3 separate regions of the Homo sapiens genome follow, and all the other regions are linked to region 2. Evidence: promoter capture Hi-C in human tissues and cell types (Jung and others, 2019). All regions are on one chromosome and are shown on one strand. The core of a region is centred on a gene start or on the middle of the fragment in contact, and the rest is flanking DNA. Distances in the headings are between cores, read along the strand shown.

Region 1 (3,122 bases), core at 412-2,911, 1.5 Mb after region 2:
TCTGGAAGTCTATACTCTGCACCATTCGGCTCTCACATTCTGTCACCGTCTCACCAATGGCAGAAGTCAACAGTTTTAACTCCCCTTGCCAGGACTGGATCTGATGCCTGGCTTTCTCATAAGCCAAGGGGTCAAGGTGTGGGGCAAGATCTTCAAGATGTATGGTTACTCGTTTCAGTACAATCCCTGAGTCCTGGAGACTTCCTGCCAGGGAGTGATACATTTTGAGCTTCTCCTCTGCAGGCAGCGTTTCCTCATTCACTTTGGACTGCTCCTCTTTTACAGACTTCAGTTGTCTCTCCAGCTGTTGGCACATCTTCTCGTGTTCTTGGTAAGCACTGGTGGTGTCTTCTAATAAGCTAACCCTCTGTTCTGTTTGTCGCTTCAGCCTGTGATATAAGGTGACAAGGTGCAGCATCTTGTCTGGCTGCCAAGGCTGACCTGTGCTGCGAAAACCTTCTTTTTTCTGGTTCAGTTCATCCACCGCCTCCCCAAGGCCCGCCACCTCGTCCAGAATGGCTCTGCAACCATCTTGCAGAGAAAGAGCCTCCTCAACGGCCAGGTCGGTGGGAACTTTGCTCATCCTCAAGAATTGGGCTTCAAGTTCACTCAGAGACTGGGTTGTCAACTCAATCAAGGAAGCATATTCCTTCCGAGCAAGAATTGCTTCCTGGACTTTATAGAACTTGTCTTTAGCCAAGGCAACAATTACATTAAATTGTCGAGGCAAAGCATTTAGCTTTTCACTGAGGTAGGAATGATCGACTTCATTCAGCGATGGTAATATGGTCTGCCCAGTTCTCTGCAGCGTAAGTAGAAGATTTTCATATTCTGGAGATTGTTCAAGAATGTTTTGGTATTTAGCCAGTTGTGTATGAAGCTCAGAACTCTCATTCATTAGGTTGATTTCAGGAAATGTAACAATATCTGCTTGTTTTAGCCAGTGGCAAGCTTTATCAAAATCTTCCTTAAAATGCTTCCTAGAAACCAAATTCTTCTCTAGTTCTTGTAACCGGTGACTGCACTTTTGTAAAACACTGTCATAGACACTCTGCAATTCCTGAAGCTTCCCCAGCACTTCACTCTTTTCCTGCTCTGTGACTTCCTTCATTAGTTCGCGACCCTGGGCCCAAAGTCCAGTGACTTCATTTTGGTAAGTCTTGAGGCTGGCTTGTGCACTCTTACATGTTTTGACTTGTTTGCTCACATCATCTGGTAACAGACAGATGTGTTCACGGAACATTATCTTTCGCTCATGTTGCTGAATTTGGCTGGTGGCCTGGAACACTGCCATGAGAAACTGGGTTTTCTCGGACAAGGCTTTGTTTAAGTACTTTCTTCGCTGGCCCACTAAGTCACTGAGACAATTCACGTGGCTTTGTGCATCAGAGAGAGCCTTCTGGATGACCTGTCGCTCATTGAGACCAAGATCTGCCATGACCCTGTCTGCGTCCTTTATAAGCGATTTCAGGAGCATCTGCTTGGCCTCCAGTTCACTGCAGATGGCCAGGTGATCCATGAGAAGGTTCTGAGCCATATCTGGAGGAGGGCTCTGCTTAAGGGCCTCGGCGATGTTGGGTTGTTGCTCTTCTGCCCACTCCATTAGCTCCTGAAATCTGGACTGCACCACATTTAACTCCTCCAAGTTGGTGACTGACACTTGGATTTTCCTTTTAATGAGGTCCTCAAGCTGAAACCAACGTTGCTCTAAATGACTCGTCTGTTCTTTGACTAACTCCTTGTCATCTAAATTCAGATGCTCTATCATTTTCTGCTTTTGATCTTTCAGATCTTCAATAGCATACTTTCTCTCCTGCAATGCCAATGCTAACTTTTTCAAAGCTTCCAGGTGGACAGCTGTACTCTCTGCATCAGATCTGAAAATACATGGAAAGGTATAAGAGCAAATTAGCTGTAGTCAATATCGATGTTTGTTCATACTATGCTAAATTACACTTCACCATTTTCTTTTTGGAGACTGAGTTTTGCTCTTGTTTCCCAGGCTGGAGTGCAATGAATGCTCTGATCTCAGCTCACGGCAACCTCCGCCTCCCAGGTTCAAGCGATTCTCCTGCCTCAGCCTCCCAAGTAGCTGAGATTACAGGCATGTGCCACCATGCTCGGCTAATTTTCTATTTTTAGTAGAGACAGGGTTTCACCATGTTGGTCAGGCTGGTCTCTAACTCCTGACCTCAGGTGATCCACCTGCCTCAGCCTCCCAAAGTGCTAGGATTACAGGCATGAGCCACTACTCCTGGCTGACACTTCACCATTTCTTTAAGTGGATCTTCTGAGCTTAGAACAATTGAGAGTAGTTCAATTCATGGTTTGTTGACAGAAGTGCTATAATTATGGAATACAAGTCTCATCAGAAGTCAATACTAGAAGTTGAATCAAACCAAGTTGCCTACTTCTTTCTGGCTGATAATGCCTTCCAATCAAATCAGAATATGCTTTTATCTTCCTCTGGCTCTTATCAACTGAGCAGAATCTATATGGTAACAGGATCCTTGGATGTTTTGTGTAATGTTAAACAGTGAGAAGCACTGATCTAGTGTACTCTAGAAAATGATACTGAAAGAAATTAATAAGTGATGCATGATTTATGTGCTTTCTTTTGTGAAGAGGGTCCAACAAACAATATAGTTCTAGGTAGTACAATCTGTAAGGTATAACCAACAGATCTAATGGCTACTTAATTGTGTACTTGGATATTTTTTGCTTATCATTAGTAATCTTTAGTAATAAGTGTGAAATGTAAAGAATTCTCATCCCTTTGACTATGAAGCACACATAAAAAATGGAATATTGTAGTCTTTTTTACTAAATGATCAGTTCTGAAGTATGAAAAGCAGGGTTGGGAGGCAGTATGAGGAGTTCTGTTTTGGACCTGTTAAGTCTCAGGTGTCTGTGGGGCCTACTGTGAGCCAGAAATATGAGTTGTTAATATTTACTGGACTAATCCCAAAGACGAGTAAATGTTAAGTATCAAAGAAAAGCAAACAAACCAGAAAATGGTATACCAAAAAAACCCCAAATCCCCACTATGATTTCATGATATCTAGAACAATATTTGCAGTTTTCTTTGCTGTAAACTAGTAAATCGGTGCAGAAGAAGTGTA
Region 2 (2,987 bases), core at 117-2,616:
CAGGTCCTGGAATAACATCATTTCATCATTTTGCTCAGTGGTTTTCTTATAATGATGAGAAAAAAATAGATTTCTGGCTGGGTCCACTGTCACGTTTTATCCATGTCTGTGTGGATTTTCTCTGTCTTCTGGTGTCCTGTCACATCCCAAAGCCGTGCAGTGCACTTTAGGTAAATTGGTGCATCTACACGATCCGAGTGTGAGTGTGGGTGTGTGTGAGCACACCCTGTGAGGTGCCCTGAGTTGGAATAAGCCGGTAAAAATGATCTCACTTTTATTAATCTTTATTTTTCTCTAAGCGAGAGGGATAGGGGGTGTTTAAAAAAAACTTTTTCTTTGAGACAGAGCTGTGCTCTGTCGCCCAGGCTAGAGTACAGTGACATGATCTCGGCTCACTGCAACCTCTGGCTCCTGGGTTCAAGCGATTCTCCTGCCTCAGCCTCCCGAGTAGCTGAGAATACAGGCACGCGCCACCACACCCAGCCAATTTTCTGTATTTTTAGTAGAGATGGGGTTTCGCCATGTTGGCCAAGCTGGTCTTGAACTTCTGGCCTCACGTGATCTGCCCACCTCAGCCTCCCAAAGTGTTGGGATTATAGGCGTGAGCTAAAAATCTTCCTTAAATATATGCATGGCTCACACTTATTTCAATGTTTAATATTAGAAGTGTTTTGGTCTTTATTTCGAAGTTTAGGGGCGATTTTGTGACCACAGATATGTTGTAGGAACTTCACTCATATCAATTAGCCTGTGGTCAAACTGTTTTCCTTACAGTCATTTGGCTTAAAGTTTCAGTTTCCAAGAACCCCTCCACGATGTTAGGTGAGGACTTAGGGAATGTGGAGATGACCTAAAGTTTATGATGGGAAGATGTGTGTAGGTGATATGCAAACACTTTTTTTTTTTTTTTTTTTTACCAAGGACTTGAGCATTTGTGGACGTGGGTCCCCTGGAGGGGCCCTGGAACCAATCAGGACTATAAAATCCTTTTAAGGTTTTAAGAAGAGCATTGTTATCTCTGTGGTACTGACGAAGACCCCGCAAGCTCACCGAGATTAAGTGCCCCTGCCTAAGGTTACAAAGCCTCTTATCCTCAGGCCACCTCCAGTACAGCAAATCCAAGCCCTCCCGTCTAAACTTGGCGCCCTGAGTACCAAGGGTCACCTCGGCCTTTCAGGCTGAAGGGAGGGAGGCTGAGTCTCAGGGCAGAGTCTGAGTCCCACTCCGCACCCCACCCTCTGTCTGGTACAGCTTACCAAACCAAAGTGCCCAAAGCCGTGACATCCCGGCCGGCGGCTCGCAGGCCCCCGCCCTCCGCACGTCACGGCCGCCGGGTGCAGTGCCCCCTAGGGGCCCCTGGGACGAGGAGGAAGCGCCAGGTCCTTCCCGCCGCCGCCGCCGCCGCCGCCGCCTGCTCCCCTGGCACGCGCCCCGCCGCCCTCGGCAGCCGCAGCTCCGTGTCCCCTGAGAACCAGCCGTCCCGCGCCATGGGCACGCGTCTGCCGCTCGTCCTGCGCCAGCTCCGCCGCCCGCCCCAGCCCCCGGGCCCTCCGCGCCGCCTCCGTGTGCCCTGTCGCGCTAGCAGCGGCGGCGGCGGAGGCGGCGGCGGTGGCCGGGAGGGCCTGCTTGGACAGCGGCGGCCGCAGGATGGCCAGGCCCGGAGCAGCTGCAGCCCCGGCGGCCGAACGCCCGCGGCGCGGGACTCCATCGTCAGGTGAGTGTCGGGTCTGGCCCTGGCCCAGGTCTCCAGCGGCTGTGGCCCCGACCCAGGGGCGGAGCGCCCGGGACCGCCGTGGGGAGCGGGGCGCGGGGCTGCGAGTGTTTGGTGCCAACTCATTAGGGGGGCCGGGCGGTGTGTCGGGAAACGCGGGCTTGGGCACTGCGGCCGGGAGCGCTGGCGGAGAACGGGGGATCCAGTACCCGACCGGGCCCGCAGCGCAGGTGGGCGTGGGCATCTCCAATGGGCGCCTAGCGGCATGGACCGCACGCCCGGCTCCACGTGCGCAGCCGGCCGCCGGCTCTGATGCAATCGCGCCGGGCGCGACCCAGACGGTAAAGGGGCGGTGCGGCTGGGGCGGAAACCAGGGGAGGGGGCGAGGAGCAGGAGGAGGGCGGGGCTGCGGCTCGGCGCGCCGGCTGGCCCGGGGTTCGGGAAGGGCAAGCGGAGCTCGGGAGAGGCGGGCTCGGGCCCAGCGCCGCCCGCGCGAAGCTCCCTGGTGTTGTGCGCCCTTCCCCGCGCGCGGCCCCTCCTGCTGGGCTGGGGTCTGTGGCTGACGTCCGCTTTTCCCGGAACGGCAAAGGTGGAGCCGGGCCCCCGGGACAGCCGCCGGGGGGAATCCGAGAGGTCTCAGCGCTGGTTTCCAGCTTCGCCGCGCAGCGCCCACGGAGTCCCCGCGCAGCTGGGTTTGCAGGGTTTTCTGCGGGCCCAGAGCGAACTGGGAGCCCCGGGCCCGGCCTTTCCCGTCCCGGTCCCCGCCCCTGGGCTCCAGCCTTCCCCGCCCTCGCCCAGAGGGGCGCACGGGTCTCGGGCCTTGCAGGGCGAGCCCTTCGGGACAACTTGGGGGTGGCAAGAAAGCCCCTTCCGCCTCCCTCGGAACTGGGATTAGGAACGAGTTCCAGGATGCGGTTTCCCCGGCCAGCGGACCACCTCCTCCATTCACATCCTCTTCCCTTTCCTTCTAGCCTTCTTTCTTAGTCATTGCCTGCTTGCCTTTCTCTCTGCCTTTCCTTCCTCCCTCTGCTCTCCCATTTTCCTCCCCACTCCCCTTCTCCCATCTCAGTAAAATACGTTTCCTAGGCTCTTTATTATGTGGCGGATGATTTTAAGGGGCCATTTATTTAGTTTTTCTTGTTCTCTGTCTTCTTTTTCTTTTAGAAATGGAGTCTCGCTTTGTTGCTCAGGCTGGAGTTCAGTGGTGCCATCTCGGCTCAATGCAGCCTCCGCCTCCTGGGCTCAAGCGATTCTCCCGCCTTAGCCTCCAGTGTAA
Region 3 (3,371 bases), core at 750-3,249, 1.1 Mb before region 2:
GGCTAATTTTCTTTTTTTTTTTTTTTAGTAGAGATGGGGTTTCACCATGTTGGTCAGGCTGGTCTCGAACTTCCCACCCCAGGTGATCCGCCTGCCTCCGCCTCCCAAAGTGCTGGAATTACAGGTGTGAGCCACCGTGCCCAGCCCCATTTTTTCTTTTTTTGAGATGGAGTCTTGCTGTGTTGCCAGGCTGGAGTGCAGTGGCACGATCTCCGCTCACTGCAACCTCTGCCTCCTGGGTTCAAGCAATTCTCCTGCCTCAGCCTCCTGAGTAGCTGGGACTACAGGTGCCTGCCACCAGGCCAGGCTAATTTTTGTGTTTTTAGTAGAGACGGGGTTTCACCATGTTGGTCTTGAACACCTGATCTCAGGTGATCCACCCCCCTTGGCCTCCCAAAGTGCTGGGATTACAGGCGTGAGCCACTGCACCTGGCCAGACCTTCTATTAGTCTGAGCTAGATACTATTGACACCATAAGCTTAACTAAAGGTTCAATATAAACTATATACTGTTGAATTTAATATGCTTCTTGGACAAGAGTCTAGAGTGGATTATTAAAAGGATGTTTCCACAATACAATTAAATAAAAGTACTATTCACAAAGGACCAGGAATTTTTCAATTATGCCAAATTTTTGATAGTATAACTACAGCACATTTTCTCACAATAACCTTGGAAATAAGATAAATGGAATGAAATGTCAATAAATTAGGTTGTTTTATAAATATTTCAGTAACTGTAGCCAAATACCAGAGATTCATGTTTCATTGATAATTGAGAAGACTCCAGCAGTGGGCCTAAAAACTTCATTTCATTTAACATCTTTCTGGCTGGGCATGGTGGCTCTTGCCTGTAATCCTAGCACTTCGGGAGGCCAAGGCAAGTAGATTGCTTGAGCCCAGGAGTTCAAGACCAGCCTGGGCAATATAGTGAAACACCATCTCAATAAAAATTGCAAAAATTAGTCAGGCTTGGTGGTACATGCCTGCAGTCCCAGATACTTGGGAGACCGAGGTGGAAGGATCACTTGGGCCCAGGATATCGAGGCTGTAGTGAGCTGGGGATCACACCACTGCACTCCAGCCTGGGTGACAGAGTGAAATCCTGTCTCAAACATCTTTCTTAATCAATGGGATGAAAGTGGAGAGAGCACGCTGGGCTAATTATGGAGAAAATAATAGCTTCTACAAAAGATTCAAAGAAAATAGTTAGTCCTTTCCTATATTGAAATGAAATTTTTCTTAGAACAAGAAAGGCCCATATTAAGGATTAAAAACCATTTGTATTAACTTCCGAATATAGGAAGTGTGGCTTAGGAGTATCACATGTGAACACTTCAGAAAGCTGACACAGCATTACAAAGGAATATCATTCCTATTAACAGGATGGCAAGATTTCTGTCATAATCACCAAGGTAGACAATATATGAAAAAGTGTTTATCTTGGAAGTCACACTTAAAAGAAGGCCTCTGGCCGAGCACGGTGGCTCATGCCTATAATCCCAGCACTTTCGGAGGTGGAGGAGGGTGGATCACTTGAGGTCAGGAGTTCAAGACCAGCCTGGCCAACATGGTGAAACCCTGTCTCTACTAAAAATACAAAAAATTAGCTGGGCGCACACCTGTAATCCCTGCTACTCGGGAGGCTGAAACAGGAGAATTGCTTGAACCTGGGAGGCAGAGGTTGCAGTGAGCTGAGATCGTGCCATTGCACTCCTGCCTGGGCGACAGAGCGAGACTTAAAGTCTCAAAAAAAAAAAAAAAGGCCTTTGACAAAGAGCAGTAATTTTTAAAGGGAAAACAAGATTGTGAAAACAAGGTCAATTAACAGTGACTCATTGCTTACTATGGTTCAGATACTGTTAAACACTGTTACACGAAGACATGGGCGCTGTTCTTGATCTTGTGGCCCAGTAGGGGGAGACAGGCTCCTTAACACACTGCTTTGCGCACAATTTAAGTTCTGCACAATGGGCTTTTGAAGCAGAGTGCAATTTAGTCCGGATTGCTGGAGGCCAATAAAAGCTGTCTGGAGAAAATGACACCTAGAAGGAGTCTTGAAGGATAAGAAGGATTTAGCCAAAAATGGAAAGAAAGAGAAGGAAACCTTCACTGGAGAGACTATAATAATCAATTTTGAATATTTGAATATGTGATGAGAGGAATTTTGTGTGTGTGGCTCCCGAGATAAGACAGATAGAAGCAAATTTCAGTTCAGTATATGAAAATTCATTTATTTAGTGAAACCCTGACATTAAAGCGTCCCAACACAAAGCAGATTCGAACATAACAACTGGTGATTGGCTCATCTCACAGGCTCACATCATCAGTGTGTTAACATACAATAGGACTGTACCCTTTTACAGGATTGAGTGTTTTGGATCCCACTCACACACTAAAACCCTGCCATAAAGTTGTATCAATTAGGGCTGTTCAAATGTGAAACTGTATTGGAAAATGGGAAACTTTATCTCCTTATATATGTATATTTTTTGAGATGGCGTTTTGCTCTTTTGCCCAGGCTGGAGTGAAGTGGCACGATCTTGGGTCACTGCAACCTCTGCCTCCCGGGTTTGAGCAATTCTCCTGCCTCAGCCTCCCAAGTAGCTGGGATTATAGATGCCTGCCACCACGCCCGGTTAATTTTTTTTTTGCATTTTTAGTGGAGACGGGGTTTCGCCATGTTGGCCAGGCTGATCTCGAACTCTTGACCTCAGGTGCTTCACCCACCTCGGCCTCCCAAAGTGCTAGCATTACAGGCGTGAGCCACCATGCCTGGCCACCATATGTTTTTAAGTATAGGTTGGATGATAATTTGTTGGGAATACCATAGAAGGGATGATGAAATTTAGGCTGGAGATGATCACCAAGGTACTTTCTATCTCTAAGATCCTGCAACCCTTGAAAGACACTCTATTTGACAGTTTCATGAATAAAGGCAGTGACAATGAACAAATTCATAAATTACGGTGTTACATTACATAAAGCTTAGTTTCTTATTAAAATTGGCAAAACTTGTCAATTGGCATGAAATGTAATGCTGTTAAAATATACTTTCTCTTATGGTTACAAATACTAAGTGGCTCACGCCTGTAATCCCAGCACTTTGGGAGGCCGAGGCGGGCTGATTACCTGTGGTCAGGAGTTCGAGACCAGCCCTGGCCAACATGGTGAAACCCTGTCGTCTCTACTAATACAAAAATCAGCCGGGAGCAGTGGCTCAAGCCTGTAATCCCAGCATTTTGGGAGGCTGAGGCAGGTGGATCATGAGGTCAGTTCAAGACCAGCCTGGCCAACACAGTGAAACCCCATCTCTACTAAAAATACAAAAATTAGCTGGGTGTGGTGGTGAGCACCTGTAATCCCAGCTAC

The links. The method cuts DNA at HindIII sites, captures the fragments that hold promoters and counts their contacts. A contact is called where the count stands out against the background at its distance.
Region 1: a fragment that was not itself captured here is called in contact with the fragment with the promoter of MTHFD1L in region 2 in 1 of the 25 tissues and cell types used here (dorsolateral prefrontal cortex).
Region 3: a contact is called between a fragment that was not itself captured here and the fragment with the promoter of MTHFD1L in region 2, in 1 of the 25 tissues and cell types used here (dorsolateral prefrontal cortex).

What each region holds. Positions count from the first base shown.
Region 1 is chr6:152,330,014-152,333,135 of GRCh38, forward strand. It overlaps SYNE1 (spectrin repeat containing nuclear envelope protein 1), which reads right to left. Exons shown (of 146, transcript NM_182961.4): 78 at 1-1,877. Among named protein-coding and RNA genes, the nearest start is that of SYNE1-AS1, 49 kb to the right of the region's middle. The HindIII fragment of the contact is 4,614 bases long and covers 1-3,122 here.
Region 2 is chr6:150,864,336-150,867,322 of GRCh38, forward strand. It overlaps MTHFD1L (methylenetetrahydrofolate dehydrogenase (NADP+ dependent) 1 like), which reads left to right and starts at 1,367. Exons shown (of 28, transcript NM_015440.5): 1 at 1,367-1,714. The coding sequence starts at 1,488. RefSeq lists silencers at 1,209-1,438, 1,499-1,908, 2,069-2,268, 2,389-2,538. The HindIII fragment of the contact is 14,014 bases long and covers 1-2,987 here.
Region 3 is chr6:149,722,109-149,725,479 of GRCh38, forward strand. NUP43 (nucleoporin 43) reads right to left here. Exons shown (of 8, transcript NM_198887.3): 8 at 2,207-3,371. Among named protein-coding and RNA genes, the nearest start is that of LATS1, 5.7 kb to the left of the region's middle. RefSeq lists a silencer at 2,419-2,621. The HindIII fragment of the contact is 3,959 bases long and covers 21-3,371 here.